4 separate regions of the Homo sapiens genome follow, and regions 1, 2 and 4 are each linked to region 3. The links are contacts of gene promoters, found by promoter capture Hi-C in blood cells and fetal thymus (Javierre and others, 2016). All regions are on one chromosome and are shown on one strand. Each heading gives the region's core, a stretch centred on a gene start or on the middle of the fragment in contact. The rest is flanking DNA. Distances are from core to core; before and after follow the strand shown. Region 1 holds the start of LOC124900537 (small nucleolar RNA SNORA12). Region 2 overlaps PPP4R3B (protein phosphatase 4 regulatory subunit 3B). Region 3 holds the start of MTIF2 (mitochondrial translational initiation factor 2). Region 4 overlaps RTN4 (reticulon 4).

What was found. Contacts are between HindIII fragments. The CHiCAGO score rates a contact against its expected background, and 5 or more counts as called.
Region 1: a contact is called between a fragment that was not itself captured here and the fragment with the promoter of MTIF2 in region 3, in 2 of 17 cell types (monocytes and M1 macrophages). The highest score is 5.5, in monocytes.
Region 2: a fragment that was not itself captured here is called in contact with the fragment with the promoter of MTIF2 in region 3 in 2 of 17 cell types (monocytes and erythroblasts); the score reaches 5.9 in monocytes.
Region 4: a fragment that was not itself captured here is called in contact with the fragment with the promoter of MTIF2 in region 3 in 4 of 17 cell types (total CD8 T cells, total CD4 T cells, activated CD4 T cells and 1 more); the score reaches 5.7 in total CD8 T cells.

Annotation. Positions count from the first base shown.
Region 1 is chr2:55,561,363-55,568,561 of GRCh38, forward strand. PPP4R3B (protein phosphatase 4 regulatory subunit 3B) reads right to left here. Exons shown (of 17, transcript NM_001122964.3): 13 at 6,832-7,001; 14 at 3,540-3,679; 15 at 2,951-3,135. It overlaps LOC124900537 (small nucleolar RNA SNORA12), which reads left to right and starts at 4,341; the gene lies at 4,341-4,488. RefSeq lists an enhancer at 5,662-6,162. The HindIII fragment of the contact is 751 bases long and covers 5,103-5,853 here.
Region 2 is chr2:55,586,276-55,593,210 of GRCh38, forward strand. It overlaps PPP4R3B (protein phosphatase 4 regulatory subunit 3B), which reads right to left. Exons shown (of 17, transcript NM_001122964.3): 5 at 2,604-2,681; 6 at 343-459. Among named protein-coding and RNA genes, the nearest start is that of PPP4R3B, 28 kb to the right of the region's middle. The HindIII fragment of the contact is 2,041 bases long and covers 4,358-6,398 here.
Region 3 is chr2:55,267,152-55,273,899 of GRCh38, forward strand. It overlaps MTIF2 (mitochondrial translational initiation factor 2), which reads right to left and starts at 2,080. Exons shown (of 16, transcript NM_002453.3): 1 at 2,018-2,080; 2 at 1,427-1,588; 3 at 418-484. RefSeq lists enhancers at 2,023-2,172, 2,118-2,941. The HindIII fragment of the contact is 1,895 bases long and covers 1,651-3,545 here.
Region 4 is chr2:55,006,866-55,013,566 of GRCh38, forward strand. The region is part of intron 3 of RTN4 (reticulon 4); the gene reads right to left. Among named protein-coding and RNA genes, the nearest start is that of RTN4, 40 kb to the right of the region's middle. RefSeq lists a silencer at 4,214-4,273. The HindIII fragment of the contact is 634 bases long and covers 3,153-3,786 here.

The sequences.
Region 1 (7,199 bases), core at 4,228-6,727, 300 kb after region 3:
GGGCAGTGCGGAAGGGAAATGTGAGGTTGGAGCCCCCACATAGAGTCCCCACTGGGATACTGCCTAGTGGAGCCATGAGAAGAGGGCCACCATCCTCCAGACCCCAGAACAGTAGATCTACCAACAGCTTGCACCATGCACCTGGAAAAGCCACAGGCACTCAACTCTAGCCCATGAAAGCAGCCATGGGGGCTGTACCTGGCAAAGCCATAGGGGCGAAGCCAGCCATGGCCCTGGGAGCCTACCTGTTGTATCAGCATGCCCTGGATGTGAAACATGGAGTCAAAGGAGATTATTTTGGAGCTTTAAGATTTAAAGACTGCCCTGCTGGGCTTTGCACTTGCCCAGGGCCTGTAGCCCCTTTGTTTTGGCCAATTTCTTCCATTTGGAATGGGAGCATTTACCCAATGTCTGTACCCCCGTTGTATCTTGGAGGTAACTAACTTGTTTTTTATTTTATAGGATCACAGGCAGAAGGGATTTACTTTGTCTCATATGAGACTTTGGACTTGGACTTTTGAGTTAATGCTGGAATGAGTTATGGGGGACTGTTGGGAAGGCATGATTGGTTTTGAAATGTAAAAAGGACATGAAATTAGGGAGGGACCGGGGTGGAATGATATGGTTTGGCTCTTGTCCCCACCCAAATCTCATTGTGAATTGTAATCCCCAGGTGTTGGAGGAGATGACTGAATCATGGAGGCAGAAAACCCCCTTGCTATTTTTGTGATAGTGAGTTCTCACGAGATCTGGTTGTTTCAAAGTGTGTGGCACCTCGGCCGGGCTTGGTGGCTCATGCCTGTAATCCCAGCACTTTGGGAGGCCAAAGTGGGTGAATCATCTGAGACCAGGAGTTCAAGACCAGCCTGGCCAACATGGTGAAACCCCATCTCTATTAAAAATATAAAAATTAGCTGGGTGTGGTGGTACATGCCTGTAATCCCAACTACTTGAGAGGCTGAGGCAGGAGAATTGCTTGAGCCCAGGAGGCAGAGGTTGCAGTGAGCCGAGATCACGCCACTGCACTCCAGCCTGGGCAATGAGAAGGAGACTCCATCTCAAAAAGCAAACAAACAAACAAAAGTGCATGGCACCTCCTCCTTCACACTCTCTGTCTCCCGCTCCACCATGGTTAAGATATGCTTGCTTTCCTTTCGCCTTCGACCATGACTGTAAGGTTCTCGAAGCCTTTCAGCCATGTTTCCTGTTAAGCCTACAGAACTGTGAGTTAATCAAACCTCTTTTCTTCATAAACTACCCAGTCTTAGGTAGTTCTTTTTAACAGTATAAAACGAACTAATACAAGTGGTAAGTCTTTATTAGCTAGAATCTTAGAAATCTCAGTATTAGAAAGGACCTTACGGATCATAACAAAATTAGCCATTCTATGCTAGAACTCTACATTGTGGTATCTAGCACATACATCTAAAATCTCATTAGCTGTCTGACTCTTCCTTTTATTGTCTCCCTGTAGCTTCCACTCACTGACTCTACACTTCTTTACTCATGGTAAAAACCTAGTAATTTCTCTCACAAGTCAATATTCCAAATGCCTAAAGACAATGATCAAGTCCGTAAGTCCTAAATATTCCAGGTTCCTTTTTCTGTTTGTGTTATGACATAGGTGTCCAATCCCTTTTAACATCTGGTTATTATTTTTATATATGATTCTTAACAGCATCTCACTCAACACTGGATACAGAACTTCAAATATGGCTGTACTGCCTCTTTTGACAATAGTCAGGGCAGTACCTGTAATGAGTAAAGGCAGAAGAATTTGTCTAGCAAAGGTACCGATTTCTTAGGATATTTTAATAAGCTTTTTGCTCCGCCACGCTGAGGCAAATAAAACTTATCAAACTAATGAGTTGAAAATGAGTACGAACAATAGTTTCAAAGAAAATGTAATAAATGAAATTAATTTTCTGAGAATTGTCTTTAGAAAATGTCACATTCAAAATCACAAACTTACATAATAAATCCAAGAAAGGCTTTTATCTTCTAAGACATAAATTTTTTCTTTTGTTTTTGAGATAAGGTCTTTCTCTGTTATTAAGCTGGAGTGCAGCGGCAGCTCATGGCTCACTGCAGCTTCGACCTCCTGGGCTCAAGTGATCCTCCAGCCTCAGCCTTCCTAGTAGCTGGGACTCCAGGTAAGTGCCACTGTGCCCATTTAATTTTTGTGTTTTTTTGTAGAGACAGGGTTTTACCATGTTACCCAGGGTGGTTTGGAACTCCTGGGCTCAAATGATCCACCTGCCTCAGTCTCCCAAAGTGCTGGGATTACAGACGTGAGCCGCCATGCCCAGCAAGGTATAAATTTTAATTAAATATTTAAATGATATACTCAGGGCAGTATTCCAAAAAATGGTAATTCCTCAGGCCACAGAAGTAAAATGGTTAGTTCTTTTGAAAGATATATTACTAGCAAGATCTTCATTTTATAAAACAAGTTAAGCACATCTGAAAGCCAGGGGAAGTTTTACTTTTTCACTTCTCTTGTTAGTATATCTTTATGTAACTTTTGTAATTTTAAAATTTCAAAGAGCAAAGTTACTTGTTTGAGCTCAGTTTATCAGCTGTAAAAGACACAGGCAAAGTACTCTAGAAGGTTTCTATGAAGCTATATGGTCTCTGTTATTACTGAGAATTTCAGTATAGAAATAAAGCCAAGACTATTCACAGAAAGAAAAGTATAAGTAGATAATTCAATTTCTAACTAGCAAATTAACAGCATTACAAAATAGCAAGTTTGAAGAGAAACATTTTAAACATGAAAAGAATTCCCAGACAGATTTGGAAAAAGTACATAATTTTAAAAGAACACAGTTTGGTATAAAATTTTTGTCTTTCTTGCTTTGTAAACTATAAACAAACCTTCACAAAGCAACAAAATAATTTCTGCACTAAATAAGAGGGTACACTGTGCAAAAATTCCGAATTTTAATACCTTTTTTAGTCTCCATAAACTTTTCATAATTATCTGGAAAATCATCTTCTGGCTTAGGTTTTTCCACTGGTGCCACAACTGCTTTTCCTTCCTCTTCTTCATCTTCATTAAACCACATTTCTTCATCCTCTTCCAAGGCTTTTGCATCTCTGCGAAATCTGTTACTACGCAATATAGATGGTACACTGTAAGAAATATATCACAAATATTGAGTAATGATTTAAAGTTCATCATCAGATTGAACTGAAGGAAAAATATGTATAACCAAGATGAACTGAAGTAATTTTAACTGACTATAATTTATATCAAAATAATCTCTGTAATGATAGAAGATGTAGCCAGAGAACACTCCAAAATATTTTAGGATGTTGTAAATTAAACTAAATATTCTTCGTAAGTTACAACATGGAGTAGTAATTCAACATATAAATGATATGGGGTAGGGGGGACGCCTTACCCTCCTATTCAACTCTATGCTATCCAGTGATGGAAAGAAAATTCCTCAGTAAATTTCACATGGAAAATCTGAACTACAAACAATTTTGGACACAGTTTTGTAGGCTATAAAAGCAGTATACTTAAACAATACCTGTTCAGTTTCTGATTTTGTCTGTCTTTTTCTTGCTCATATTTAGTCTTCAATCCTTTGAATGTCTGAACATATTCAATCGATTCAAGTGCTTTATAAAAGTTTTCAACTATATGGGCAGTAAGAGACTTGATATCTTCCTGTATAAGCACAAAATTTACATTTAAAATATAATACAATGCTTGTTAGAAGAAAAACTTTAAAATTTTGTTTTGTAGTTCTAAAGCTGATCAAAAAAGGTTTTTCAAAATCACCTTCCAAAATGTAATGTCCTGGTTTCTTTACACATGAGTCAGGACTGCACAGAAAACTTGAAAAAAAAGGAGAAGCAATTTACTGGAGTCCTTTTATAGGACTATAAAGAGCATTCGAAAAGTAAATAGATTTATTTTACATCTTCTATTTTTTGTATATATATATATATATATAGCAGTTTACAATTTAAAAAGCACTTTTACATAAAATTTCATTTGATCTTCACAACAATTCTATGAGATAGGTTTTATTATTCCCATTTTAGAGAAAAACCAAAATTGAGGCTCTAAGAGAGGCTGGATGGTTTGATCCAGAGCACACGGCTGGTTAGAGGGCAGATGTTAAAATTACATTTTCAAAATACTCACGGTGATGGATACCCCAAATACCCGGACTTGATCATTACACATTCTATGCATGTAAAAAATAAATACATGTACCAAATACATCTGTATAATATTATGTATTAATAAAAGAAAAACATATTTTTCAACAAACAGGTCTTATTTAATGACTTCCTGTTTAACTGCTATCAAAATGGGATATGGTTGTGGTGGTTTTCTTTCTGGTACATTTGTTAAGTTTTCAAATGAGCCTAACTCTGCCACATATATCATATAGGAGCTGGCAAAGGCTTGATGACAAAGAGATCTCTCTCAAGCCTTTCCCACATCAGAGGCTGGCTTTCACACACACAGAAGAAGAAAAAACAACAGAGGACACGTGTTACCTAAATAATAAGAAGCAAAGACTTCTCTGACTATATTATACACACAGATCTGATAAACTATCTGGAATTCTACTTGTCTATTCCTATAGTCTTCCAATAGTATAATATCTGTGAAATAAACTAATTGATAGTAATAACTTCTAAATTCTAAACCATCACTGCAAATGCATGCATGCCCAGTAGGCTTATTTTAAAAAAAAAAATTAAAGTTGTGATTGAGGACTTTACAGATAACACTACATAGTAAGAAACACACAGGTCATTTCTTGAAAAGATACACCATAATTTGGTTGCATTATGGATTTTAAGTCTTAAAACTAGTTCTCCTGTACTTCTCAATTGAAAAAAAATACGCAAATCAGAAATTAGAAACCTAGGTAATGGCTCTATGTTATATGTGAAACGAAAAAATACATTAAGTTTTGGGGCACAAGGTACACAAATCGACCACTCGAACTTATTTTCACAAAAACAATTCCATCATGGGCATAGGGACAGGGTTGTAAACTCTACCATTTGCTTTATCTGTATCTCACCAAAATTTTAAAGGAGAATAATATAAAGTAAATAAAATATAAAGCTTTGATTTATTGCAGCAGTACAATGGGAACTAGTGAGCTAGTTAACCATGTTCCTTCTTTTACCAGGTTAAAGACTTCTATCCTCTTCATCCTTTTAAAAATCATATACTTGGCAATTGACCACTTTTAGAAAAACAATCCAGTCAGCCAAATAATCTTCATATGAGAATAGCATGTTATCAGCAAAAATCTGACTTGTAAGAAATAAAACTAGATAATGAATTTCTAGCTTGGACTTTGATTTTTCAAATTATTTCCAGCCAGGTGCAGTGGCTCACACCTGTAATCCAACACTTTGGGAGGCTGAGGTGGGAGAACTGGTTGAGCCTAGGCGTTTGAGACCAGCCTGGGCAACAAAGGGAGACCCCATACATAAAAAAAAATTACCATTAGCCAGGCACTTTAGTGCATGCCTGTAGTTCCAATTACTCAGGAGGCTGACGTGGGAGGATCTGCTTGAGCCCAGGAGGTCGAGGCTGCAGTGAACTGTGATTACATTATTGTACTCCAGCTTGGGCAACAGCATGAGACCTTGTCTCAAACAAAACAAAACAAAAAATAAAACCCAAATTCTTTCCAACTATGTGGCCATTTCCTCAGTGGAATGATTTCGGTGTGTTTAAGTACAGGTGAAGTAAATTTGTTGTACTGGTTCTACAGTTATCTGTTGCATTCCTGTTATTCACATAGACTGCCCTCCAGATTGTTTATGACAAATCTTCTGTTGCCTAAAACTAAGCTGGGACAAAGCTTCAAGTTCTGACTGGTCCTGATTGTGCTACTATCCAAAAGGATGTTCTTGAATAGGTCACTTAATAACTTTGGGTGTCTTAATTTCCTGATCTATAAAATACGGTAATTGGAGTAGTCCATCTAACTTCCTGATCTCTTTAACTTAAAATTCTAGGATTCCATCCTACCTTTTATGCATGTTGTATTAATGTCTACCAAATGATTTTTTTTTTTGAGACAAGAGTCTTGCTCTGTCACCCAGGCTGGAATGAAGTGATGCAATCTTGGCTCACTGCAACCCCACCTCCTGGATGCAAGTGGTTCTTGTGCCTCAGCTTCCCAAGTGGCTGGGACTACAGGCGTGTGCCATCACACTCAGCTAATTTCTGTATTTTTAGTAGAGATGGGGTTTCATCATGTTGGCCAGGCTGGTCACGAACTCCTGACCTTAAGTGATCAGCCTGCCCAGGTCTCCCAAAGTGCTGGGATTACAGACGTAAGCCACCACGCCCAACCCCAAGTGAATTATTTTTCCATCTTTCTATTCTTTTTAAATCATTACCTCTACAATAAAAATATCACCTTTTCCTAAAAGATCACGTGAATAAGGCATGATTGACTGAAATGTCCACATACACCAAATGAGATCATGAAACATTTGGCCAATAAAAATGGAACTGAGAAAATCAAGTAAATATGGGCTGAAAGACTATGCTGAATTTCACTTTTATATTTCACAATTAAAAATATTAGCGTTAAAAAATATCAGTGTCAAAAGTAAAAACCACTAAACTATAACCATGTGGCAAATAAGAATTAAAAAGCTACTGATTTTTAAAATTTCTGTTTATTAGAATAGATTCTAAGACACATGGAATATATAATTTCAGGGGTGAAAAGGGAATGAAGTCACTTTGCTTACATGTAATTCTTTTACATAAAAAATTATTTACATATAATTACATATAATAACAGCTGTTTTATATAAACTTACCACTCTTATAAATTCAAACAACTCAATAACAGCTGAATTCAACAGATTATACCGAGTTCCATTATCCAGAAGTGCATTTATAACTGGCTCAAAAAGATTTCCCTTGGTGATGTAACGATTATAAAATTCATCTTTAAGTCCAATTATCCGCCTCATAAAGCGAAGGGCACCTAATTAAAAATAATATAGGGAATAAGTTAATGATCTTACTAAAATCAATTATTATACAGGTGTTTTTCCACCATAAAGCAATGTATATGCTCTTCTAAAATGAAAAGTAAAACTGTGTATAAAGTAAAAAGTAAACTCCTCTAAAATGAAAAGTAAAACTGTCTGGTAAAACTGGACTTTGAGGAAAATAGAGCTGC
Region 2 (6,935 bases), core at 4,128-6,627, 320 kb after region 3:
ACCCTGTGTTGCAGCATGAATCCCCTTGTTCCACTCACTGATCTAAAAACAAAAGATATTTTACTGGCTTCTATGAAACACACTTAATATTGTTACAGAAAATATAACAGTCTTGCAAAAACGTGGGGTTTTTTTATTCACTTGAAAGCACACTATATGCAAGTGATTACATACTGATATTAAAAATTAAATAAAAATCTGAAACTGAAGATATTCTTGTAATTCAATTAAGATAGCTAAACTATAGAATTGAATATACATTATTATATATTTTCCCATCCATAACATAAGTGTATTACAAATTTACAATTTCAAAAACATGAAAAGAAACGGCATAATTACCATTACAATTTCAAGAGCAGGAAGAATTCCCAATTTTGCCAATGTTTTGAAAAATGCATCCCTGTTTTGAGGTTGTAATGTCTGAGAAAATGCACAAAACTCCTTGAAAAAATTAACCTGTAATGTCAGAAATTTTAGTGAGACATTGATAAACATAAACTTGGGGCACACTATAGTAATCATCTACCATGGTGTGGTATTCACCCTTCTGAAGGATCTCATCTTTTTGGAGTATGCTGGCTCCTCAAAACTACATTAAAAACAAATTAAAAACTAGCACCCCATTAAAAGTAAACCTTGCATTACTGGGTGCTATTAAGCAAAAAGAGAAATCCACCAATACAAGGTAAATGTAAGCTGGCTTTCTGAAAGACACATCATAAGCTGCTTTTTTCCTTTTTTTTCCAGTGAATGGAGGTGTTTGACAACACATCTTTCTAAGTGAACCTTTGAAATATGTTATTAGAACATTTTCCTTACTCCAATGGGACCTTATAGGTCAACAGAGATATTTGGCTATAAAAGGCAAATGAAAGCATGCATGCTTTGTTTACAATGCTGGATTTGCCTATTGGTCTATTAGTATGCAAAAATGCAAGATATACTTTTAATGGGGTGCCAGTTTTTAAAATGTTTTTAAATGTAGGTTTTGAGGTGCCAGGATACTCTGAAATGATGACATCTGGCGGGGCACAGTGGCTCACGCCTGTAATCCCAACATTTTGGGAGGCTGAGGCAGGCGGATCACTTGAGTCCAGGAATTTGAGACCAGCCTGCCCAACAGGGTGAAACCCTGTCTCTACTAAAAATACAAAAATTAGCTGGGCATGGTGGCACACGCCTGTAATCACAGCTACTCAGGAGGCTGAGGCACGAGAAGCGCTTGAACCCAGGAGGCGGAGGTTGCAGTGAGTTGAAATCATGCCACTGCACTCCAGTCTGGGCAACAGAGCAAGACTCTTTTTCGAAAAGAAAAAATAAAAAACGATGACATCTTTCAGAAGGCTAACACTGATCAATTAACTCTTTAAACACATTCAGTGCAAAAATGCCAGGTAATAAATTTGTTTTGAATTATGAACACATAGTTTCACAGAAACCATCCTACAACTCAACTCTAGCTGGGTCCCCAGTAATATCTCAAAAACATAATACTGGTTTAAGGACTGAAATGTACATCAAAACTTCTCTAGTCTAAAACACCAATATTATAATTGAGAAAACGAAGTAGGCTACTAATAAGTAACTACACCAAAGATGACTTAGAGGTTTTAAATTAGCCATCTTTCATTATTTTGTGAAATCCAAAATAAATAAATAAAAATCTGAAACCGAAGATATTCCTGTAGCAATTCAATATCAGATAGCTAAATTATAGAATTGAATATGCATTACTATAACATATACTTTCCCTTCTCATCTCATTATGTTTGAAAAAAATGTCAAACATCTGGCAAACGGCAATCACAATCACTATTCTCTTCCTCAAAATGGTTTATATCTCAAAGAAAATGCTTACAATAAAAAATAAAAAATTTCCAAAGAACCAAATTATTTATATCATTTATTCAGGAAGCATTTTCCTTATCTCTTGTTTAAAAAGAAAAGCATTGCGGCTAGGCGCAGTGGCTCACACCTGTAATCCCAGCACTTTAGGAGGCCAAGGCGGGGGGATCACCTCAGGTTGGGAGTTCGAGACCAGCCTGACCAACATGGAGAAATCCTGTCTCTACTAAAAATACAAAATTAGCCGGGTGTGGCAGCGCATGCCTGTAATCCCAGCTACTTGGGAGGCTGAGGCGGGAGAATCCCTTGAACCTGGGAGGCAGAGGTTGTGGTGAGCCGAGATCGCACCACTGCACTCCAGCCTGGGCAACAAGAGCGAAACTCCATCTCAGAAAAAAAAAAAAAAAAGAAAAAGAAAAGCATGGCTATAATGCGAATGTCTGCAACCATAAAAATGTATGAATTTTGTAGTTCTGTTCTAACATAAGGCACTTATCTGATTTGGGGATTTATAAGGCATACAATGGTGGGGGGTGATACATCAGAACATCCTAAGAAGTTTCTAAAATACACAAATTCTAGAAACAAATTTTAGAAACTCTGAATAATCATTTCATAGTTCAATTTAAATACATACTTTTCATCTCTTACTAATCTAATTACAAAAAATTGTCTCAAGTTAGCAAATTCAAGATTAAAAGCTGTGCATGCCAAAAGAATAAGTGCTCTTTAAGAGTTTGAATTTCATAACTTACCAATTCACGCCGTTTATCATCATCTGTAGCCTCATCTGTTAATTGTGCAAAAACTTCAGACAAAAACTTCTCATCTTCCTGCATGAGAAAAATAATTACTATGAAATATTAACAAAAGAATAAAGTTATACTCATTTATATGACTTACACAAATTATAAAAAATAGTTGACAAGTAGTATTTTCATCATGAAACCTAATATTCTGGGGTGTATTTCTGTGTTACAATTTTCTAAAATTTGACTACACCATTCAATTCTTGTTATAAATACATCAATATCTAGTTTAACTAAAAACCTCAACTACAAATAACTCTCTGGAAAACAAAAATATTTGTTCTAGAGGTGTTACGTGAAAACTCACTTAACTTAGATTCTCTAGCCCCCTTTCAGGGTCTACTTACTCTTAATTTAAACATAATTCAAACAAGCCTAAGGATCTTATTGTCAGTTTATAACAGATTAGAAAAACAAGAATTGTAAGACAAGGAACAAGGAAAACAGTAAAGGAGGCTGAATTCCGACAGTAGATAAAGTTACAAAGCTATTTAAAATACAATAACTCATAAAATACAACAACCTACAACCAACTGGTGCACAGTTTTACACGTTCTTGCGGTCCCCAAGGATATAACTAAATGACAAAGCACTACAATAACTGCTTTTCATACTAATGACTCTGGGGTATTAAAAAGAAAGACAAGTGCTAATTTCTACAGGCGTTGTCTAAAAGGACAAACAGAAAAATATAGTCAAGTGGCCAGGCGCGGTGGCTCACGCCCGTAATCCCAGCACTTTGGAAGGCCGAGGCGGGCGGATCACGAGGTCATGAGATCGAGACCACCCTGGCTAACATGGTAAAACCCTGTCTCTACTAAAAATACAAAAAAATTAGCCAGGCATGGTGGTGGGCGCCTGTAGTGGCAGCTACCTGGGAGGCTGAGGCAGGAGAATGGCGTGAACCCGGGAGGGGGAGCTTGCAGTGAGCCGAGATTGTGCCACTGTATTCCAGCCTGGACAAAAGAGCGAGACTCCATCTCAAAAAAAAAAAAAATTATATATATATAAAAAATATATATAATTATATATATATTTATATATATATTTAATATATTATATATATATAATATATATATAGTCAAGCACGCATTTTTAAAAAATAAATTTGTGGGCCAGGTGTGGTGGCTCATGCGTGTAATCCCAGCACTTTGGGAGGCTGAGGCGGGGGGATCACCTGAGGTCGGAAGTTCCAGACCAGCTTGACCAACATGGAGAAACCCCGTCTCCACTAAAAATACAAAACTAGCCAGGCATGGTGGCACATGCCTGTAATCCTAGCTACTAGGGAGGCTGAGGCAGGAGAATCGCTTGAACCTGGGAGGCGGAGGTTGCAGTGAGCCGAGATTGCGCCATTGCAGTCCAGCCTGGGCAACAAGAGTGAAACTCCGTCTCAACAACAACAAAATAATAATAATAAATAAATTTGTTTGTCTAAAGTCTAGGAGTACCGGTTAGACTGTTAACTGTGGTTACTGCTTGCTGATAGGTTATGAGTGATTTTCTTTTTTGGTTATCTATATTTTCTAATTGGTGATAGGTTATGAGTGATTTTCTTTTTGGTTATCTATATTTTCTAATTTTCTACAATAAGCACAGACTAAATTACAAAGGAAAAAATGGGCAAAAATATTAAAATTCACCTTAGAGATTTCATCAAAATCTGCTAAAAAAACTGATGGAAATTGTTGGTGGTTTTAAGCTTCAGTTATCTTCAAAATTCATTTTTATGAAATGTAATTTCCATTAATTTAAAGTAACATGTTCTAAAAAAGTTTGTAACAATAGTATCTGTAGAGTTGATAGTAAAATAAAACCCTAACATTTAAAGGATACACCCCAACTACCTGTCCTTTTTCTTACTGAGGATCATCCATTAAATGGTATCAATCCCTTAAATCCTTTTTGAAATAACGTGGAACATGTATTTTTAAAAAATGAATAGAAACCACTAGGTACAATCAGAGAGTATAACATGCTCTTCTACTAAAAATCAATTGGTGCTACTCAAAGACAAGACACTGGGAGATGAATCACTTAATTAGTCTGACTCAGAATGTGTCTGAGTCATTTAATTAGTCTGACTCAGGTGTTTCTTTTCGTATTTCATTGACTCCTTTTGGACCTTATGCACTGCAGCCTGAACATCCATCTTTTGAGGGAGTTTATATGCATATGTAATCTTTTATTTAGCCCTCAAGTTAGTTTTTCCTTTTTTTTTTTTTCTAGAGTCTCACTCTGTTGCCCAGGCTGGAGTGCAGTGGTACAAACGTGGCTCAGTGTAGCCTCGACCTCCTGGACTCAAGCAATCTTCCTCCCTCAGACTCCCATGTAACAGAGACTGCGGGCACGTGCCACCATACCTGGCTATTTTTTTTTTAATTTTTTGTACAGATGGGGGGGTTTCACTTTGTTGCCCAGGCTGGTATCGAACTCCTGGCCTCAAGCAATCCTCCCACCTCAGCCTCCCAAAGTGCTAGGACTACAGGCATGAGCCACCATGCCCAGCCTACTTTTTCCAAATACTTTTAGTCTTAATATTTTAGGTTAGGGTGAGTAAGTACATATTTACCTCCATTCACACCTTTTATAAATTTCTATTTTCCTGCATCTGTTGTAGATTACATCTTCATCCTTTACTACCTGAAAATTTAATTTTTTCAAAATATTTTCATAAGAAAAAAGTTCCAACTCCTTGATAAATGCAATTTCCCACTTGAATTCTTCTTATATGATTCGGTACTTGTGAGCTGATAAGTAGAACTGCATAAAATATTACAGATAGAGGCAATCTCAATTATTACAGTCCATTAAGAGAATATGTATTCCTAGTATTTTTTCCCTGATTTCCAGCATTACTCTGGCTATTATTCATTAAGCTATAAAAGCACTCTGTTCCAATATATTTATGAAGGAAGCAAATAATCAATAACTTAAAGCCTATCATATAGTTGAAATACTTACTCCAAAATCTCTGGTTCTCCAAGTAATCAAACTAATCTCTTTTAGTTTTTCTTTTCTATTTGGTTTTAACAGCTTTTGTTTTAATAAAACCTATATATTTAAGTCAAAACTTGTGTGGCTGCTTTTCTGGACAACATAAAAAAACACTGTGGGGAAAAAAAGAGGTTGCTTCTAAACAGTCTAAATCAAACTCTTCTCTTTGCAGTAATATAAATACAGGCCAAACAAAAGAAAAAACAGAACCCATTCATTTTTAGAAACATATAAACACAGAAATTTAGAATTAAATCAGATTTTGCAACATTACAGAGACTGTCAAGTCCAATTTTAAATTTCAAGAGACTGAGGTTCAAAAAGTGAACCTTTCTGAGGGTAGCTAGTGACAGATGGATTTAGAATCCAGGCCTCCCAAATAATTAATGAGGTTTTTGTCACTCCTACTAAGTAAACCACAAGACAGGTTTCCAAGTATTTCAAACTTCAAACGTATGAATCAAACCAAAGCAAAAGATACACAAAGCTGGAATGGGCCAAATCTAGTAAGATAAAATTTAATATATTAAATCCTGTACTTGAATCCAAAGAAAAATCCTAAAAACAAAATGAAAAGCCCTATTACTCTAAACAGTTTTTTAAAGAGTATCTGAAGATTTTACATACTTAATCTGTAACTGGGATGGGAAGTTAGAAATTTTTCTCTTTCCGTGCCAAAACCTTAGCATCTGCAAAATATGTTAAAAAGAGAACTAAACCGCTAATCCTGCTGGGCTAATTTTAAGCTTAACTCTTACCTATGGAATAGCAGAAATATGTATATAATATAATATATGTAAATGTGTTAAAATGTCAACATTTGAGATTCCTATCCTCCATCATTTCTAGTAAGGAGAGAAATTAAAACTTTGTTCTGAAAAGGATCTTATTCTATAACTGTTTGTGCAGAAATAATCTCATTTTACTTGCTTTCAAAAATTTAATTTCTGGCTGGGGGCAGTGGCTCATGCCTGTAATCCCAGCACTTTGGTAGGCTGAGGCGGGTGGATCACCTGAGGTTGGGAGTTCAAGACCAGCCTGGCCAACATGGTGAAACTGTCTATACTAAAAATACAAAAATTAGCCAGGCATGGTGGCTGCTGCCTGTAATCCCAGCTCCCAGGAGGCTGAGGCTTGAGAATCACTTTAACCTGGGAGGCAGAGGCTGCAGTGAGCCAAGATGGCGCCACTGCACTCCAGCCTGGGTGACAGAGCGAGACTCTGTCTCAAAATAAATAAATAAATAATTTCTAAAATATTTTAAAAGAATGTTGCTCAATT
Region 3 (6,748 bases), core at 830-3,329:
AGAATATACTGAATTTTTTTTTTTGAGATGGAGTTTTGCTCATCGCTCAGGCTGGAGTGCAATGGCGTGATCTTGGCTCACTACAACCTCCACCTGCTGGGTTCAGGGGATTCTCCTGCCTCAGCCTCCCAAGTCGCTGGGATTACAGGTGCCTGCCAGCACACCCGGCTAATTATTTTGTATTTTTAGTAGAGACGGGGTTTCACCGTGTTGGCCAGGCTGGTCTTGAACTCCTGACCTCAGGTGATCTATCCGCCTTGGCCTCCCAAAGTGCTGGGATTACAGGCGTGAGCCACCGCGCCTGGCCTATACTGAATATTTTTTAAAAGAAAGAAAAGAAATGATAACAGAAACAAGTACAGTATAGCAAAGAAAGTATCTTATTAGGCAACAAAGGAACCTTAGGTGGACACTCACTCTGACAGTCAGTGTTATCTGGACTCAGCAAGTCACTTGTTTCCTATGGGCCTCATTTTCCGGATCTCTGTTAAAAATAAATAAATAAATAAGTGTTTGAATATCTGTCCTTCCTATTACAAGACTAAGAGGAGAAAATGAGATGATGTATATACTTTATCATCAGCTATTTTAAAACCATATCACATGTCTTGATACTCGCTTATAAGCTTTGAGGATTCATTGCTTATAAGTTAAAAATATTCACAAGTCATTAACTTGTTTACCTTCGGACAATTATGAGGTTGTGTATGTGTGTGTAATCGAGCAAGCATTTTACCTTAAAAGGCTTATTCGAGTAAAGATCAAGGAAAAATCTAACTTAATGCCAACGAAATAAACACATTAAGATTTAGAAATTCAGGCTGGGCGTGATGGCTCATGCCTGTAATCCTAGCACTTTGGGAGGTCGAGGCGGGCGGATCACCTGAGGTCAGGAGTTCGAGACCAGCCTGGCCAACATGGTGAAACCCCCTCTCTACTAAAAGTACAAAAATTAGCCGGGTACGGTGGCGGGCGCCTGTAATCCCAGCGACTTGGGAGGCTGAGGCAGGAGAATCGCTTGAACCCAGGAGGCAGAGACTGCAGTGAGCCGAGATCAGGCCACTGCACTCCAGCCTGGGCGACAGTGAGACTCTGTCTAAAGAAAAAAAAAAGAAGATTTGGAAATTCATTCAATAGTATTTACACACATTAAATACTTCTAAGAATGGCACATGGAAAATATCTTATTTACGTTTGTGCCCCTGGACCAAGAAGTAGAGTGCTCAGGTAACACAGGATTCCTTGAGAAAATAATTTTTAAATCAGTATGAAACCAGATTTGAGAAGAGCACAGATTAATGGAGTGGGAGGAAGGACCCTACGAGATATTAACCAAAGCACAGATATGTAATTGAGGCAGGAACTGGAAAGACACATTGGAGGCAATAACCCAAATGTCAAAACTGGAAGGAAACTTGTCACTTACTCCAAGCTCCTCATTTTACAGAAAAGGAAACGGAAATCCAGAAGGGTCAAAAAAGCTTCTCCAATGTCATACCGCTAGTTAATGGCAGTCAAGACTAGAACCCAGACGTTCTGACTCCCAGTACGGTGTTGTTTCGCCGCTAGGATATCCTTGTCAAGGAATCTGAAAAAAGTATGTTGCAAATACGTAGTTGCGTTAGGGAAAACGTCTGAATGTGAGCTGGAAGCTTTGGAACTTACCAGAAAGGTAAAAATAAATCACTGCAGAAAAATTACGGATCTGGGGTGGCTCGCCTCAAATTGGAGCCCAGAAGGCCTTGGGCCCATGGGAGGCTGGGAAGTGAGGACCTGCACCCACAGCCGCGCGCGAGGAGGGGAAGCCGGCCAGCCGCTTCCGAGAGAACAGTGCACATGCCTTCGTGAATGCCTAACGTGGGCTCACGCAGGGATTAAATGCATCTTGGAAAGGCTTCCGAACGCACAATGTTTATGAAGTTCGCGTGATTTGTGCCACTGACACGTTAGGCGAAACAACACACACCACCTGCACCGGACAACCCTGGTTAAGGGATCCTACCCACTTAACTCCTACCTACAGCCCCGGGCCCCTGGATTCTGAGCACGGGCGGAGATCACCTTCTGGACCCGGAAGAATGGTCGGTAGGTCAGTCCGTCCCCGCTACGGTCCCCGCCGGGCTTCCGGTCCCGCTGGAAAAGGTTCTTTCCGGAATTCAGAGAGTTGCTGTCGCCGCTGGGGGTGGGACTGTCTGCGGTGTCCGCGGCGGGCGTCCAGCCTGGGAGGCGCTGGTTCAACCTGTGGCTCCTCCCAGGGTCAGCCGCGCGTGGTGAATCGTTTCTGCAGGTCCCTTCCATTTCTTACTTTCCTTTCCTTTCTTTCTCTCTTTCCTTTTTTTCTTTCTGTCCCTCTCCTTTCTTTCCTTCCTTCCTTTCTTCATTTCTTCCTTCCTTTCCTCTTCCTTCCTTTCCGTTTTTCTTTCTCTTTTTTTTTTTTTTAAGAAAACTGCCTTTATTCAATTAGAAGTTGGAAAAATTAACTGGTACAGAAAAAAAGTGTAATCAGCTGGAGAAAAAGTGCCACCCATGAGAACTGATGGCTCCTCTGGGAGGGAATCTGGATACAGTGAGGATTTCTAGGAAGCAAATTACTTCTTCTCTGGGGCTATGAGAGGCCTCGGTGGTGCTTAACACTGTAGGAAACGTTAAATGGAGAATTGTGGGAGAAATGATACCTCCTTCAAAGATACGTGTTCCTAACAAGAAGGAAAAAACAAATGCAAGCGAACAGTGGCGGTAGAACCAGTTAGTATTGTGCGAACAGTACTTTCTGTTTTCTCCTAAGTCAGCTCGTGTGTATGGCATTAGGAGTAATAGAGCCAGAGTGCCTGGTTTCCTATCCCAGCTCATTCCTAGTGTGTGGTTGGGAATGTTTTGTCAACTGTCCATGTCCCAGTTTGTTCATCTACATTATAGTAATGACAGTAGCTAGTTCACAGGATTGTAATAAGGTTTTTGTTGTGTTTTTGTTTCTATTTGTTTTTGAGATGGAGTTTCGCTCTTGTTGCCCAGGCCGGAGTGCAATGGCACGATCTCAGCTCACCGCAACCTCTGCCTCCCGGGTTCAAGCGATTCTCCTGCCTCAGCCTCCCGAGTAGCTGGGATTACAGGCATGTGCCACCACTCCTGGCTAATTTTGTGTTTCTTGTAGAGACAGGGTTTTTCCATGTTGGTCAGGCTGGTCTCGAATTCCCTATTTCAGATGATCCGCCCACATCGGCCTCCCAAAGTGCTGGGATGACAGGCGTTAGCCACCTCTCCCAGACTGTTTTTTGTTTTTTTTGAGACAGTGTCACTCTGTCGCCCAAGCTGGAGCACAATGGCGCGATCTCGGCTCATTGCAACCAAACTCCGCTTCCTGGGTTCAAGTGATTCTCCCGCCTCAGCCTCCCGCGTAGCTGAGATTACAGGGGCACATCACCATGCCTCACTAATTCACCATGTTGGCCAAGCTGGTCTCGAACTCCTGACCTCAGGTGACTGCCCACCTAAGCCTCCCAAAGTGCTGGGATTACAGGCATGAGCCACCACGCCCGGCTGCAATAAGCTTTTAATGGGTTGATAAACTGTTGATAAGTAGTGCCTGGTTCATAGTATGTGTTTGCTGTTATGGTTATTACTGCCTGCCCCCAGAGCTTTCCCTCATCTTGCTTGGACATTATGACTTTCAGCTGGTCGTTTTGACCACAACCATCACCACCTCTCAAATATAAATATTGTTTTATTATCTCTGTCTTTTGGTAAAAGGAATTTGAGAAGAAAACAAAATCAATCAATTAATCTTTGTCTTTAAGATCTACCACTCCCCTGGGTAATTGGTATGGTACAGAAGTTCATTACTCAAAAGCATACTTGCCATTGAGGGAAGAGAGAGACCCTCTCATATTGTTTTATATTGTTTTATACTCAGTACCTGTTTTAAGAGAGAAAAAAGAAGTGAAATCAAAGACAGGCAGTCCGGCGCCAGGCCCAAAACCAGGCCTGGCTCTGCCTGGCCTAAACCCAGTAGTTAAAAATCAACTCAGGCTGGGCGCAGTGGCTCACGCCTGTAATCCCAGCGCTTTGGGAGGCCGAGGCGGGTGGATCACGAAGTCAGGAGATCGAGACCACCCTGGCTAACACGGTGAAACCCCGTCTCTACTAAATATATATTAAAAAAAATTAGCCGGGTGTGGTGGCGGGTGCCTGTAGTCCCAGCTACTTGGGACGTTGAGGCAGGAGAATGGCGTGAACCTGGGAGGCGGAGCTTGCAGTGAGCCGAGATGGCGCCACTGCACTCCAGCCTGGGTGACAGAGCGAGACTCCGTCTCAAAATAAATAAATAAATAAATAAATAAATAAATAAATAAATAAAATAAAAATCAACTCATAACCTAGAAACCGATGTTATTCATAGATTCCAGACATTGTATAGAACATTGTGAAACTCCCTGCCCTGTTCTGTTTGTCTCTGACCACCGGTGCATGCAGCCCCTGTCACGTACCCCTTGCTTGCTCAAATCAATCACGACACTTTCATGTGAAATCTTTAGTGTTGTGAACCCTTAAAAGGGACAGAAATTGTGCACTCAGGGAGCTCGGATTTTAAGGCAGTGGCTTGCCAATGCTCCCAGCTGAATAAAGCCCTTCCTTCTACAACTCGGTGTCTGAGAGGTTTTGTCTGCGGCTCATCCTGCTACACCATCATCTTACCTCCTAACTCATGCCCCCATCCCAACCTACCAACCTCTTTTTTTTCCCCACTTTCCCAATGCCTACTACAAAGGTGTGTAATCGGTGTTACTGAATGATTTAATGCAAACTCCTCTCCTGGACATTTTTTTTTTTTTGAGATGGAGTCTCACTCTGTCACCCAGGCTGGAGTGCAATGGCACGATCTCAGCCCACTGCAACCTCCGCCTCGCAGGTTCAAGCGATTCTCCTGCCTCAGCTTCCAGAGTAGCTGGGATTACAGGTGTCTGCCTCCATGCCCGGCTAATTTTTTTTGTATTTTTAGTACAATTGGCCTGGCCGGTTTTGAACTCCTGACCTGAAGTGATCTGCCCGCCTCAGCCTCCCAAAGTGCTATGATTCCAGGTGTGAGCCAGTGCGCTAGGCCTGGAAATTTTTTTTAACTGAACCTAACAGGCACAACAGTTGAAAACTATTGAAGTTTACTCCAACTGCTATCATTTTACCTACTACTCGCAGATATCTACTGAAGTTTAATTTCTGTGAGAAGTAATTCTTTGCTGTCTTACTTGGCTTGCAAGGCAGTTGAGAAACAAGCAGAAATCAGTTGGTAAACCATCAAAGTAGTTGCCAGATCTTTTTTCCACAATATTAAGGTGAAAATAACCATATATGCATCTATGTTCCTCTAATTTTCTAATCATTAAGATTTTCTAATCATGCTAATGTAGAAAATTCAAGCAATATACCAAAATATAGAAAGTAGCAAAAAAAAAAAGAAAAAAGAAGAGAATGAAAACAGTTAAAGGAACAGAGAAGCCAACCTGAAAGAGCTCCCAATGGCCAAAGCTGGAAATATTTGAGCAGCAAAATAACATAGTACCGGATTATAACCAAAAGTATCAACTAAGTATACATATGTTCATACTGATATAAATAAATAATTGAATAAATACATAGAGAAGGAACAAATCTTCCTTACAGAAGAATTCCAAATTTTATATATATATATATATATATATATATATATATATATATATATATATATATATAAAACCTTCACTAGGAAGTGAAGATTAATTCCTCTCCACCTTAGTGTGGGCGGGACTTACTAACTTGCTTCCAAAGAATACAATATGGAGGCCGGGCACGGTGGCTCACGCCTGTTAATCCCAGCACTTTGGTAGACCAAGGCAGATGGATCACGGGGTCAGGAGTTCCAGACCAGCCTGACCAACATGGCGAAACCCCGTCTCTACTAAAAATTAGCCGGGCATGGTGGCACGCGCCTGTAAGCCCAGCTACTCAGGAGGCTGAGGCAGGAGAATCGTTTGAACCTGGGAGGCGGAAGTTGTGGTGAGCCAAGTGCCGCTGCACTGCAGCCTGGGCAACAAAGCAAGACTCCGTCTCAGAAAAAAAAAACAAAAGAACACAGTATGGAAAAGGGAAAATAGTAACTTTACAGTGGAGAAACGTGGCAGACAATGCATGAACCAAGTGATCAAAGTGAACATCACCTGCAATGTCGTTTTAATATCATAGACACCCCCTGAAATGATGTGATGAGGACACTTTACCCCTGTAATATCCTTTTCAAAAACCCACAACCCTACTTTAATCATGGGGAAAACATCAGAGAAACCCAATTAAAGAGCCTTCTACGAAATACCTGACCAGTACTCTTCAAAACTGTCAAGGTTAGGAAAAGCAAGAAAGGACTCAGAAACTGTTACAGATCAGAAGAGACTAAGGAGACATAACAACTCAGTGCAATATGGTATCCTGGATAGAATCCTTTAACAGAAAAGCACATTAGTGGGAAAACTGGTGAAATCTGAATAATGTCTGTAGTTTAGTTAACAGTAATACCCCAATGTTAATTTTTTAATTTTCACAAGTGTATCATGATTAATGTAAGATGTTAACAAAATTGGGTAAAGGGCACTTGGGAACGCTCCACTATCTCAGCAACTTTTCTGTAATCTAAAATTATTCCAAAATTAAAAGGTTGATTGCTGGGTGCGGTGGCTCACGCCTGTAATCCCAACACTTTGGAAGGCCGAGGTGGGTGGATCAC
Region 4 (6,701 bases), core at 2,220-4,719, 260 kb before region 3:
TAAAGCCGCAGACCTCCATAACGCAGGTTTTAGGCTTTTCTTTCTTAATAGTTCTTTCAGTGCAAATCTCCTCACATAGTATTCACCTGCCTCACTCTGCATTTGACTCCCAATTCTTTATCATTAAACCTGTCATTTATCTGAGCTTCCGAGATGTTCTATCATCACTTCAAATTCAAAGCGTCTGAAACTCAACTTGGCATCTTTTCTATTTTAGCTCTATTTCTACTAATACTAAAGGACTGTCATTGCCAATATTTCACTCTAATTCAAACTTCATGTTGCCCCTTGAGTCTTTACACCTCATCCTTGTCCTGCAAATCTATACCAAATGCCAAGTATTCCTTCCTTGAATTTCTCAAATCTGCCGCTTCTTCTTCCTTCCTATTTCAGGCCAAATTCAAGCCTATCTACTTTAAATCTGGGCACAACTACAGTCATCCTAACTGGTGTGGCTATAGGTTATTCTCCCCCAGTTGATCTTATGCAGCACCCTAAACCAACTGCTATCATTTACCATTCCCTACTTTAAAACTTCCAAATCCTTTTTATTTCTTTTACAATCAAATCCAAAACTCAATGTCTTCTGCGGTCTGGCCCAGGGTATCTCTTCCATAAAACCAGAGAACCTCTCAACTGGAACCCTGGGCAGCACGCAAATGAGGAAATTAAAACCAAAAAGGTAAGTTTCTTATTCTAGCCAAAATCAAAATATACCAGAACCAAGGCTTAAACCCTAGATCACTGTTTCCCGAATTTGCCCAACAATATGAATTACACCAGGATGCTTAATATGCAGATTGCCAGGCCCTACAAAATCTGATTTGGTAGGTCACGACCCAAGGAATCTGCATTTTTAAGAAGCACTAGATGATTCTCATCTACAGAGAAGTATGAGGAAACCTAATCTAGTTCATCTAAATTTTCTACATTCCTTGACCACACCAATCTTATCTTTCAACTCCTGTCCTAAATATTCTGTTCTACCCAGAAAGTTATTTACTGTCTCAACTATAGCTTTTTAGTGGTTATATCATTCTCCTACCCCATCCAAATCCCTAGGCCTACCCATTCCTTCCTATTTTAAGCTCCTAAAAATCTTTTGACTACCTTAATCAAAATTTTCCATATAACCCCAGTAATCGAATACTATGTAAATGTCATTTGTCATAAGTATCCTAAACAGAAAATATGAAGAATATATAAAAGAATGCAAATTATTAATGCTTTCAGCCTGAAAGATCGAGTATCTTAAATACCAGTTAATCGGCAAGCAAACACACACACACACACACACACACACACACACACCACCTTTTAAAGAACACTGAAATCAGAGCATCTCTCAAATCTGTCACTATGCTATACTGGTGGTCAGGGGGAGAATGCAGTAGAAAAATGCCTAAGTATATTTTTTAAATTTACCTAGACCCTAGATTAGGCTCCTTCTCTGCTGTCAAACTATTTTTTTTTTAGATGAGGAAAAACTCATTCCATGACAGCTTCCAACTTCTCAGTGATTTCCAACTTAAACCTTACTCTGTAATCTTAAATATTACTCTGTAATAATAAAATTGTCTGCTGATAGAGAAAATACTAAAATATAATTTAACCACTGACTCAGAAAAACAGGCAAAGTTAATCTTACCGACCAAAACAGCCAGACAGGTACTAAAAAATATTAGGCCATTCCACTTACAAAGTGAGGCTCCCCAGAGATATTCAGGAGTAAATTCAATTTTACATTTGAGTACCTAAAAATAATCAAACAAATCTCTGGAAAAAATATGAACTACATTGGAACTTAATTTCTCCTGTCTCATAATACCTTTAAATTACTTCAACAAATAAAGAACTTAAGATGTTATTTAATGATTTAAGACTTAAGTTATTAATAAAGAACCTTAATAGTTGCAGAATGAGCCCTGATACGACTTTTCACCTACTTTTAAGGCCTGTATTTATTGTATTATTATCATTTGTATCATTTTCACTTAGCAAAAGCTACCATATATCAATTCATCAATCTGTAACGTCAACGGCTAACAGGATGAAGAAATAAAAATCCTTCTCTTTAAATTCACATGTAAAGAAATCCTAAAGGCAAAACCCAAAGCTGTATTGTTTTCTATTATTTTTTAAGTTGCAACCATAAAATCTTACCAATGTCTCAATATGGTCTCAATCTTAAATTCACCTTTTCCCCACATCTTTATTGAACAAATTTTTAAAAAGACATTGTAAAAGTTACTGTAATTAGCTCTACATACTTTTAGAAATATTGTTGCCAATCCTGCTAGAAGGAAATAATTTTTTTTAATTATAAAACTTGAATGTAGCCAGGAAAAAAATTGCTTACGTAGAATGTCTATTTTGGACTACTTAAAAATAGCTCTAATAATTTAAAGGTAATTTATTATAAGTGGTCAGATATACAGCCTACCACTTTCTTTTAAAGAAAAAAAGGTAGATTTAACCATCTACATAATAAAATATTCTTTAAATATTCTAGTCAACATTTTACCATTTACAGGCTTAAATTCTTACACAATGATCCACTGAGATTTGAAAGGATCTGGGCTTTCAAGGGGGAGGAAAAGGGATCAAAATCACTGATTGGTTATTACAAGGACAAAGGTTAGTGACTTAAATATAGACATGCATTTAAAATTACTGCGTAATTATACTGTGTAATTTGAATGATTTCAAGATGCACATAATCTGATTAAAAGAAAGTTGGTAATAATTTTAAAGGTTCAAATCAGATTTTCAAAGAAGAGGCTTACTGCAAACACAATATCTTGCTACCTACAAACCTTTGCACAGAATTTCAACTACACCAAGTAAGGTTTTTTAAAATAGTCACGGAAAATATGTCACTGTGAAACACAAAAACAGCAATGTGTATTTACCACATCCAAGTGACGAACAAATGAAATCTGTTAGATCTATATTGTTTACAATGTGCAAGATTAGAGAACAGAACCTAAACGGCAGGACTGAAAAGACTAAACCGAATGCCAGTGAAACAGAACAGCATGACATTTTCTGGTATACAACCAAATGTAAAAACACGTGAGATAGCCGTTTTAATCCTTTAGACTTCAACTCTTCAGAGGTTTCACTTTCAATCCAAAATATCTAAATTCCAAAGCTTATTCATAGAAATATATTAGTGGTCACATATAAAAACTGAATAAGAAATTAAAAAGCAGATATACCCTTGTCCTTCCAATTTTTCTTCTGACCGTCCATCTCTTGTCACGATCTGCTTTGCAGCTCCAATTATTAATTATGCATACCAACAGAAAAGCTGTAACTGCACAAACCTACTCCCTGAGACATGAAATACCCGTTTCCTCAACCGAAGTCTGCAGTCTCCTCTGCTGCACAACTGCAGCAGGACTGAAGTCACCTGACGTCTTCTGGGTGTGGAACAGTCTGACGCAGTGCAATCTGTAACTAGGCTACTAATACTCCAGCATTAATGCTTTCCTTCTATCTGTTGATTGTTTTAGGCATTTGCCTTGTTGCTCATACCAAATGGAGCTGCATTTGCAGGGAGAGGGCAGGCTACCAAAAGAAAGGAAATAAGGGTTGTTCTTAGAACTAACCACTGAATGTATCTGAAATGCAATTAAAGCCATATGCAGTTTTTTTTTCTTTCTTTTTTTAACAGATGGTCGAATTATGCTACTGGTTTTCAGTTTCATTTAAAACTCTAAAATTAATGGTTACCTAATAAGATAAAAATGGACTGATCAAATATTAATAGCCTAAATTTCAAGCTTGTGAAATGATGAGTCTCCTTAATTGCTCCTAAGTTCATTAAGACGTAAAACATTCAGCATTTTGCACCTTATGAAGAGATAAACAGAAAATAAAAGTCAAATTACTAATGTTTATTGAACATATTATTTGAACAGAAAACTTTAGCAACTTAATCTTCCTAATATCTTTTTTCCTCTTTTACAATTATGGAAATCCAGAGACTTACAAACATACACTTACTCTTAATCATCATCTGCTCCAACTCAATCTTTGAATATTTATTAGACACCTCTACAGACAGTATTAATAGATTCTTAGCTTGGGGAGATATATTCATGGGCTAATGATATAATCTGCCATGGGAAAATGACATAAAAGCAAACTATAATTTTATTTTATTTTTTATTTTTTTCTGACACAGGGTCTCGCTCTGTCACCAAGGCTGGAGTGCAGTGGTGCAATCATTGGTCACATGGCAACCTCAACCTCCCAGGCTCAAGAGATCCTCCCATCTCAGTCACCACAGGCATGTGCCACCATGCCCAGTTAATTTTTTATTTTTACACTTTTTTTAGAGATGAGGTCTCCCTGTGTTGTCCAAGCTGGTCACAAACTCCTGGGCTCAAGCAATTCTCCCACCTCAGCCTCCTAAAGTGCGGGGATTACAGGTATGAGCCACCACACCTGGCCTAAAATTTTACTGAAAAATATAAAAACAAATCTATGTACAGCATTTTTAAAATCTGTGTTCAACTTTATAAAACTGATTTTCATTCCAATGCAGTGTCTCTACTTATGTTCCACAATCAATTCACCTGATACTTATATCTGCCTAAGCAGAAAAGGCACTAACAAATCAGCTAAAATATTTTAAAATGCAATTTGCGAAAATACTATAAGATACGTAGCCTATGTACAAAAATACATACTTAAGACTGTATAGCTAAAATGAAATAGAGATAATATTTTCTGGAACCTGCTATCTGTGGGCTGCAAAATCCTTAATATCAGAAGTGGCTTGATATTAATATATACTCCTATTATGTACCCAAAAAAACTAAAAACAAAACATGTAAGACTTAAACATAGAAAGAACTAAAATTAGGAAAATGAGAGGGGAAAAAGGAAGTGGCTTGAATATCAATGACACATTTATTTCCCTATCTGCCTCTCTAACTCCAAACATAAATAAAGAAAAGTAATTTTTAAAAGAGCCCAGTATTCTCAGCTCGAGTTAATATTTAACTTTAAACTTTATTCACTGAACCCCTGCATAATGTGATATTTGAGAACCCGGTCAGCAAGCCATATCATGGCCTGAAAATGTCTGGCCTCTCCACGCAACATTCAGAATCTCAAACTATTTAGTAAATACAAAATACTGACTTTCTAATAACAAGTCCCTTAAAACTGAAAGCCAATAAATAACGAGCATTAGAATAAAACACTCAACTATAGTACTCAAACACTATTTTCAAGTCAGAGATTACTTCACTAGTAGAAGAAAAAAGTTTTACTGTGATCAAGTTACTCGGCACTTAAGACTACTTGTATCTTCCGTGGTACTTGATTTGGCTTAACAATTAAAGAAAAAAGTCTGAGAGGGGCAAGAATGTGTAATAAGACATACCCACTCATCTAAACATTAAACATACTTAATAGCACCCCTGACAGATTAAAAAGTCAAAATAGGAGCCCTGAAGTTTAGTAAACATTTCAGCCTACATAGTGACATCTACTTCTTTAATTTTTATGGTCTTTGTAAGTGTACAAGGAAAACTAGCTTGTGGAAATCAACTGACATTTTGCCCAGTTCTTTCTCACAAAGTTTTTCAACTAGACTTGTTTTAAGTTTGGCAAGTTAAGCAAAAAAGTGCTTAAATCTGAAAAACTGATATGACACAAATTTGTTAAAGATGTAAAGCCAGATGGGCTATGTTTATTATGAAAATCATATAATCTCTACTAAAAATAGAAGGCTTTAGGACATTGCCTGACAAAAAGTAGGCACTATGTAAGTGCTATTTACTTATCAGTATGCTAAAAATAACAATCAAACTAAGAAGCAACAAGACAAGTAAGGCACATCTAAGAAAGCTCATATATTAAGTCCTTCAACTCTAGGCAATAACCCAATCTTTCTAAACAGAATTGCCCCCTCTCATACACAAACTATTGTCGTTGCTGTATAGTTCTATTATTTTCCAGCTGAGAAAAATGTACATCTGCATAGTTTATAGGTCCTATTCCACAATGAACCCCAACTTAACAAGTCAAATAAAGAAAGGACATAAATCTGTTAAAAACTTATCTTCATTTATTTTGTTTTCCTTCAACTACCTAACTTTTAAAAAAATTAATTCTTTTGAGGACAATTTTCAAGTAGAGCACATGTCTCAACTTGCAGAATGGCATTTTGACTATTTGAGACAGGAACCTCTTTTCCCATAAAAGCAAAGGCTCACAAAGGAGAGGCCACAGAAAACTCCTTTATTTATACTGCAAGCCAATAAAAGTGTTGTATGAATTCTAAGCCCTATTTCATATTGTGTGTTTGTGGAGGGGAGAAGAGGGGAAAAGTATTCTCCTTTTCCTGAACTCAAAATCAGCTTTATACAGAACTTTTGAAATAAACTGTTCAAAGTTCATATTTGGCAATTTCCCACTCCTCAATGTCCATGTCCCCAGTATCCCCTTCTCCCAAGCATGACAAAAAAATCAAAGATGAAAACTTGCCCAAATACATATCCATAATGTCTTTCCTTTGCATCTTATGAAGGGATAAGCTCTAAAGGGTAATATGCTGTAAAATTACCTACACGGTTTCTTTTCTCACATCTCAGACCAAACCCTCGTTTCCTTCATGCACTTACCTGTTAAGTAGGAAATACGCATAAATCAATTCCTACTAAACAAGAAACTCTTTTATG